Linked DNA regions of Homo sapiens: region 1 is linked to region 2. The links are contacts of gene promoters, found by promoter capture Hi-C in human tissues and cell types (Jung and others, 2019). All regions are on one chromosome and are shown on one strand. The core of a region is centred on a gene start or on the middle of the fragment in contact, and the rest is flanking DNA. Distances in the headings are between cores, read along the strand shown.

Region 1 (3,932 bases), core at 514-3,013, 50 kb before region 2:
CGCTTGAACCTGGGAGGCGGAGGTTGCAGTGAGCCCAGATCGCACCATTGCACTCCAGCCTGGGCAACAAGAGCCAAACTCCGTCCCAAAAAATATATATATATATACAGATTTTGTTTGGTAGTTCCTCCATAAATGAAACACAGATTATCAGGCGGGGCATGGTAGCTCATGCCTGTAATCTCTTACACTTTGGGAGGCCAAGACAGGAGGATCACTTGAGCCCTGGAATTCAAAACCAGCCTGGACAACATAGGGAGATCCTGTCTCTACAAAAAAATAAAAATTTAGCCAGGCATGGTGGCGCACACCTGTAGTCCCAGCTCCTCAGGAGGCTGAGGCAGGAGGACTGTTTGAGCCCAGGAGTTGGAGGCTGCAGTGAGCTATGACTGCATCACTGAACTCCAGCCTGGGCAACAGAGCGAGACTCTGCCCAAAAAAAAGTTCAAACAAAATATTGTACATGCATGCTCACAGCAGCACTATTCACAATAGCCAGAAGGTGGAAGCAACCCAACTGTCTATCAACAAATGAACGGATAAACAAAATGTGCAAAATGTGGCCTATCCATACAATGGAAATTTTTTTTGGAGACAGAGTCTCACTCTGTCGCCCAGGCTGGAGTGCAGTGGTGCGATCTCAGCTCACTGCAACCTACACCTCCTGGTTCAAGCAATTCTCCTGTCTCAGCTTCCTGAATAGCTGGGATTACAGGTGTGCACCATTACACCTGGCTAATTTTTGTGTTTTTAGTAGATACTGGGTTTCACCATGTTGGCCAGGCTGGTCTTGAACTTCTGACCTCAGGTGATCCACGCACCTCGGCCTCCCAAAGTGCTGGAATTACAGGCATGAGCCACTGCGCCCGGCCAATGGAATGTTATTTAGCCATAAAAAGGAATGAAGCAGGCGGGCACGGTGGCTCACCCCTGTAATCCCAGCACTTTGGGAGGCCGAGGCAGGTGGATCTTGAGGTCAAGAGATTGAGACCAGCCTGGCTAACATGGTGAAACCCCGTCTCTACTAAAAACACACAAAAAAACTAGCTGGGCGTGGTGGCATGCGCCTGTAGTCTCAGCTACTAGGGAAGCTGAGGCAGAAGAATCACTTGAACCTGGGAGGCAGAGGTTGCAGTAAGCCGAGATTGCACCACTGCACTCCAGCCTGGTGACAGAGCAACACTCCGTCTCAAAAAAGAAAAAAGAAAAAAAAAAACAAGGAATGAAGCACTGATACTTGCTTTCACCCAGAAAAGCCTTGACAACAGGACGCTGCGGCCGGGTGCGGTGGTGCGGTGGCTCACGCCTGTAATCCCAACACTTTGGGAGGCCAAGGCGGGCGGATCACCAGGTCAGGAGATCAAGACCATCCTGGCTAACACAGTGAAACCTCGTTTCTACTAAAAACACAAAAAATTAGCCGGGCGTGGTCGCCAGCACCTGTAGGCCCAGCTACTCAGGAGGCTGAGGCAGGAGAATGGCATCAACCCGGGAGGCAGAGCTTACAGTGAGCCGAGATTGCGCCACTGCACTCCAGCCTGGGCGACAGAGCGAGACTCCATCTCAAAAAAAAAAAAAAGAAAAGAAAACATGACTCAAGTGAAATAAGCCAGACACAAAAGGCCCTGTATGTTATGATTGCTTTTATATAAAATGTCCAGAACAGGCATATTTATATAGACAGAAAGTAGATGAGTGCTCGCCAGGGGCTGAGGGGAGGGGGAATGGGGAGATGGTGTTTAATGGGTACGGGGTTTCATTTTGGGAAGACGAAAACATTTTAAAGATGAATGGTGGTGATGGTTGCACAACACTGTAAATGTACTTAGTGCCACGAAACTGTGCACTTTAAAGCAGTTAAAATGGGCCAGGCACAGTGGCTCATGCCTGTAATCCCAGCACTTTGGGAGGCCGAGGCAGTGGATCACCTGAGGTCAGGAGTTTGAGACCAGCCTGGCCAATATGGTGAAGCCTCGTCTCTACTAAAAATACAAAAATTAACCGGGCATGGTGGCACATACCTGTAATCCCAGCTACTTAGGAGGCTGAGGCAGGAGAATCACTTGAACCTGGGAGGTGGAGGTTGCAGTGAGCAGAGATCGCCCCACTGCACTCCAGCCTGGGTGGCAGAGCAAGACTCTGTCTCAAAAAAAAAAAAAAAGATGGTAAGATGATTAAAATGGTAACCTTTATGCTATGTGTATTTTTATCAGTATACACACACAACACACACACTTTTTTTTTTTTGAGACAAGGTCTCACTCTGTCACCCAGACTGGAGTGCAGTGATACAATCACAGCTCACTGCAGCCTCAACTCCTTAACTCAAGCAATCCTCCTGCCTCAGCCTCCAGAATAGCTGGGACTACAGGCACAAGCCATCACGCCTGGCTGATTTTTTATTTAGTGTACAGATGGGGTCTCGCTATGTTGCCCAGGCTAGTCTTGAACTCCTGAGCTCAAACATTTCTCCAGCCTCAGCCTCCCAAAATGCTGGGATTGCAGGTATGAGCCACCATGCCTTGCTTTTACTTTTTTCATTTTAAAAAAAAAAGTTTATTTTTATTTTGTAGAGACGGGGTCTCACTATGTTGCCCAGGTTGGGCTTGAACGCCTGGGCCCAAGTGATATTCCTGCCTTGGCCTCCCAGGGTGCTGGGAGGTGATCGCAGGTGTGAGCCTCTGCACCCAGCCCACACACGGATTTTTGACCACTTCTCCCCTCCTCCCCAGCCAACACTCTAGCACAGCCACCATGGTCTCTCACCTGAACCAGGGCGGTGGTGTCCTCATTGGGCTCCTGGCTTCCACCATCGCCCCCTGCAGTCCATTCTCCACATCGCAGTCAGAAGGTCTTGAGATCTGAATCAGCGCACACCCTCCTCACCTCAGAAGCCTCCCATGGCTCCCACCTCATCCAAAGTGCACATTGTGGCCGGGCACAGTGGCTCACGCCTGCAATCCCCGCACTCTGGGAGGCTGAGGCGGGTGGATCACTTGAGGTTAGGAGTTTGAGACCAGCTTTAGCAACATGGCGAAACCCTGTCTCTACTAAAAATACAAAAATTACCTGGGTGTGGTGGCACGTGCCTGAAATCCCAACTACTCAGGAGGCTGAGACTCGAGAGAATCACTTGAACCAGGGAGATGAAGGTTGCAGTGAGCCGAGATCGCGCCACTGCACTCCAGCCTAGGTGACAGAGTAAGACTGTCTCAAAAAAAAAAAAAAAATTGCATTCTGTGGTCCATGAGGCCCTGATCAAGCTGCCTGTCCTCTCTTGCCTCACCTCCTCCTCTTGCTCTCCCCACTCCCTCTTGCTTCAGCCACTCTGGCCTCTTCGCTATTCCTTCAACAAGCCAGGCACACCACCCCGAAGGTTTTTGCACTTACTGTTCCCTCAGCCCCCAGAGACCTGCCAGCCTCACCCTCACCAGTCTTGGGCTTCTACCCAGTAACCACACCCTCCATCATCCCCATCACCCTTACCCTGCTTTCACTCAAAGTTATGAATCACATTTCTTGTCTTTGTCCCCGCTAATATTTAGTTCCATTAAGAACAGGAATTTTTTTTTTTTTTCTTTGAGACAGAGTCTCACTCTGTCACCCAGGCTGGAATGTAGTGGTGCAACCTTGGCTCACTGCAACTTCCCCATCCTGGATTCAAGCAATTCTCCTGCCTCAGCCTCCCAAGTAGATGTGATTACAGGCACCCACCACCACGCCCAACTAATTTTTGTATTTTTAGTAGAGACGGGGTTTCACCATGTTGGCCAGGCTGGTCTGGAACTCCTGACTTCAGGTGATCCGCCCTCCTAGGTCTCTCAAAGTGCTGGGATTACAGGCATGAGCCACCGCACCCGGCTATTAACTGAATTTCTTGTCTGTGTTCCCACTAATATTCAGTTCCATTGAGAGCAGGAATTTTTTTTTTT
Region 2 (3,742 bases), core at 676-3,175:
CAGCCTGGGCGACAGCGCGAGACTCTGTCTCAAAAAAAAAAAAAAAAGTAAGATCCATGTAAGTGATGTCATATGTCATAATCCATGGTTTACTCATGACCCACAGTTTGGAAAACACCAGGAAGAAGGAAGGGACAATGAATAATCGGGGAAAGCGAAAGAGGAGGGAAAGTGAAAGAGGGAGGAAAGCTGAGGAGTTCCCAATGTTGCAAATGGGGAGATTTCACGTGAGATATAGATTACCTGCATCTCTTGGGGGAGCTAAGAGTGTGTACTTGGAGGCAGTCAAGTTTGAGAAGTCTGACATCCTTACTCAGCCAGCCCCACACTAGGCACTGGAAGGTGAGTCACTCTGGTGAGGCGATTGCGATTGGGTGAGACCCAGTAAGGATGGAAAGTGTAGAGGAGACAGGAATCCACGGCTTTGGAAAAAGGAAGGACAAAACTCACCAAACCAGAGCAGGGCAGGAAGTAACAATGAGAAACTGAAAAAGAAACGGAATGGAAAGCTATGAGACAGGATGAAATTTGGCATGGGGTCTGCCCAGGCATGTCCATGCCAGGTGCCCAGGGCTGCTTCCACGACGTGGGTCCCCTGCCAGATTTGTGGTGAGTGTGGCCAGGTGTGCATGCTCCGACGTGTGTGCAGTGGGCCAGTTAGCAAGAAGCTGTCACAGGTGTGACTTTGTGACATGTGTGGGTGGTCAGTTTCTTCTATGTCTGATTTGGTTTGTGTCTCTGAATGTCAGTTTCTTTCCTTTATTTTTATTTTTAAGACGGAGTTTGCTCTTGTTGCCCAGGCTAGAGTGCAATGGCACTATCTCGGCTCACTGCAACCTCCGCCTCCCGGGTTCAAGCAGTTCTCCTGCCTCAGCCTCCCAAGTAGCTGGGATTACAGGCATGCGCCACAACGCCCGGCTAATTTTGTATTTTTAGTAGAGATGGGGTTTCATCATGTTGGTCAGGCTGGTCTCGAATTCCTGACCTCAGGCAGTCCACGCACCTTGGCCTCCCAAAGTGCTGGGATTACAGGCATGAGCCACCGTGTCGGGCGAATGTCACTTTCTGATAGTTTTAATGTGTTAGCTGTGAAATTGTGTGAGTGCATTTGTGTATGTCCCTGTGGGAGTGTGATTTGGATTTGGCCGTGTATCCAGGTATCCCTGTAACAGGTGTCTGTGTGTATGTGTGTGTCCCCTGTGCCTATCAGCAAGTTTGTGTTTCCTGATAAGCACTCCGCCTATGTCTGTGTGGTTGCACCACCGTGTGTGTGGTGTGGGTGCCTGTTCGGTAGGGTTGTTTGTGAACACAGTTTGTGGGCCCAGGTGTGATCATCAGTGTGGGTGTTTCTGCAACTGTGTGTGGCCCTGTCATTGTGTCCGTCTGCTTGTCCAGGGGACCCTGTTAGTGAGTCTGTGCATTTCCGTCTGGGTGTGTGTAAGTGTGAGCCCCATCAGTATGTGAGTGTGTGTGCTCATGCCCCTGTCCATGGTGTGGATTTGCGAGACTGTGGCCTTGTGTCTGTGAGTACATCCTCTGGGCTCTGCCTGCACGTGACTTTGTGGACCCTGGAACGCCCGTCGGTCGGTCTGTGTACGCATCGCTGGGGGTGTGGATCTGTGGGTCCCAGTCAGTGTGTGTGTCCGACTGTCCCGGTGTCTGGGCGATCTCCCCACACCCCGCCGCACAGCGCCTGGGTCCTCCTTGCCTTGGGCTAGGCCCTGCCCCGTCCCCCGCTGCAGGGAAACCCCCGGCGCGGAGGTAGGGGGGGGCGCGGCGCGCGCCTGCAAGTCCTGACTTGTCCGCGGCGGGCGGGCGGGGCCGTAGCGTCACGCGGGGGCGGGGCGTGGGACCCGCCGGGCGGGGGCGGGGCGGGGCGGGGCGGGGCGGCTTTGGAGCGGGCCCGGGATCCGCCGGGCGGCCTGAGACGCGGCGCGAGCCACATGCGAGCGGGCGCCTGGCGGCGGCGGCGGCGGCACCAGCGATCCCAGCAGCGGCCACGACGCGGACGCGCCTGCGGCCCGGGGAGCAGCAGCAGCCACAGCCACAGCAGCCGCCACTGCAGTTAGAGCGGCAGCAGCAGCGACAGCCACAGCAGCAGCCGCCGCGGAGAGCGGCGCTCGGCGGGCGCGCCCTCCTGAAGGAAGCCGCCCGCCCCCCACCGCCGCCCCCTCCGGCGTGTTCATGCCCCCGGGGTGAGTGTGCGCGCCCCGAATCCTCTCCGGCGGCGATCGGCCAGGCCGGGTGGACTCCCTGGAGGAGGTGACAGGAGTGCAGGCGGAGAGCAGTGTGGGCGCCCTGCCTCCCCACACCGCGCCTCTCCAAACCCCGCGAGGGACCCTGGGCCAGGGTCGCCGGGTGAGAGGCGGCTCGGCGTTGGGGCGCCGGTCTGGGCGCACAGGTGCCTCGGCGGTCTGGCGGGTTTGTTTACAAACAATGGGGTGCGGGCTCGGCAGCGCCCCCTGGCGGCCAGTGCGGCCCCGGGGAAGAGGGTCGACCCCAGGGGTGCCCCAGCCCCCAAAGTCCGGGAGGGGCGGGGGGGCGGCACGGAGGGGCGGCCACACCCAGGGCGCGCGCCCGCTGGGGGCGGCGACGGGGGGCGGCTCGCGGGCCGTGGAGTCTGCGGCTCCTGCGGGCGGGGGCTGCGCCCCAGCAACAGCCGGTTATTGGCCCCGCGCTCGCCTGGCGGGCGGGGCGGGCGCACGTGGCGGCGGTGGGGGGGGCTGTGACAGCGGAGGGGGGTGTCTGGGACCGCCGTGGGAGCGCGCGTGTGCGGGGTTGTGGATCTGCAGGTGTCTCGCCTGGGTGTGTGCGCGTGTCTGGCTCCGAGTTTGTGCTGGGTTCTGCAGGGAGTGGTGGTGTCGATCCAGAGGAATGTTGGGGTTTCTGACCCGTCGGGGTGTCTGCGTGAGTCCCCGCGCCTGTTTGTGTGGGGTTCTGTCTGTGGGTGCCCTGCTTGTGGGGTGGGTGGACCTGCGTGTGTTGTCGGTGAGAGTTGTCTGTGTGTGCTGTTCCGGGATGATACTGGGGGTCTGTGGTGCCTGCGTGTGCTGGGGTGTGGAGGTTGTAGTGTGTGTGTGTTGCTGGAGTGAGCTGTTTGTGTGTTTATGTGTGTGTCTTGCCCGAGCGTGCGATATGTGTGCTTGTGTCTTGCCTGTGTGTTTCTGTCTTGGCTGAGGCCGTCTCTGTATCTCCGGGGCATGTGTCTTTTGCCCAGCGTTTGTGATGCTGCGCCTGCTAAATGCAAATGTCTGTTTTCTGTCCAGGTGTCTGTGTGAGTTGTCAGGTGTGAGTGTGTGTGTGTATGTATGTGTGTGGTGGGGGGTTGTTTCAGTCTGGGTTTGGCTTGTGTGTCTGGCATCAGCGTCTGGGATTTGAGGACCCAGGATCTGTGGGGTCTATGCAGTGTAGACGGTGGGTGTTGCTGGCAGCCTCTGGATGGGGTTGTGTCTGAGCCTGTGTGTGTGTGTGTGTGTTGGGTCTGAGGGGCTTGTCACTGTGATCGGCTGGCTCATGTGTGTCATGTGGGCTGCGTGTGTGTAGTGTTTATGTCAGTCACGTGAGACCAGTGTTTTCTGTGGGTGCGCTAGGTGTGTGTGCTGCTGGGCTGTGTGGGATTAGAGTTAGCTGTAGGGTGTGTGTGTGTGTGTGTTGCTGACAGTTGGTGATGATGTTTGAGGGTTGCGTGAGGAGGGTGGGTTGGTGTCTGGTGGTGTGTTGAGGTCTGATGGCATGTGTCTGT

Evidence for each region. Contacts are between HindIII fragments. The study calls those that stand out against the background at their distance.
Region 1: a contact is called between a fragment that was not itself captured here and the fragment with the promoter of BBC3 in region 2, in 3 of the 25 tissues and cell types used here (liver, neural progenitor cells and psoas muscle).

What each region holds. Positions count from the first base shown.
Region 1 is chr19:47,279,297-47,283,228 of GRCh38, reverse strand. No RefSeq gene overlaps it. Among named protein-coding and RNA genes, the nearest start is that of INAFM1, 6.4 kb to the right of the region's middle. The HindIII fragment of the contact is 9,963 bases long and covers 1-3,932 here.
Region 2 is chr19:47,229,382-47,233,123 of GRCh38, reverse strand. BBC3 (BCL2 binding component 3) reads left to right here and starts at 1,925. Exons shown (of 4, transcript NM_014417.5): 1 at 1,925-2,195. RefSeq lists enhancers at 389-658, 85-708, 1,418-1,537 and silencers at 1,678-1,907, 2,048-2,767. The HindIII fragment of the contact is 48,720 bases long and covers 1-3,742 here.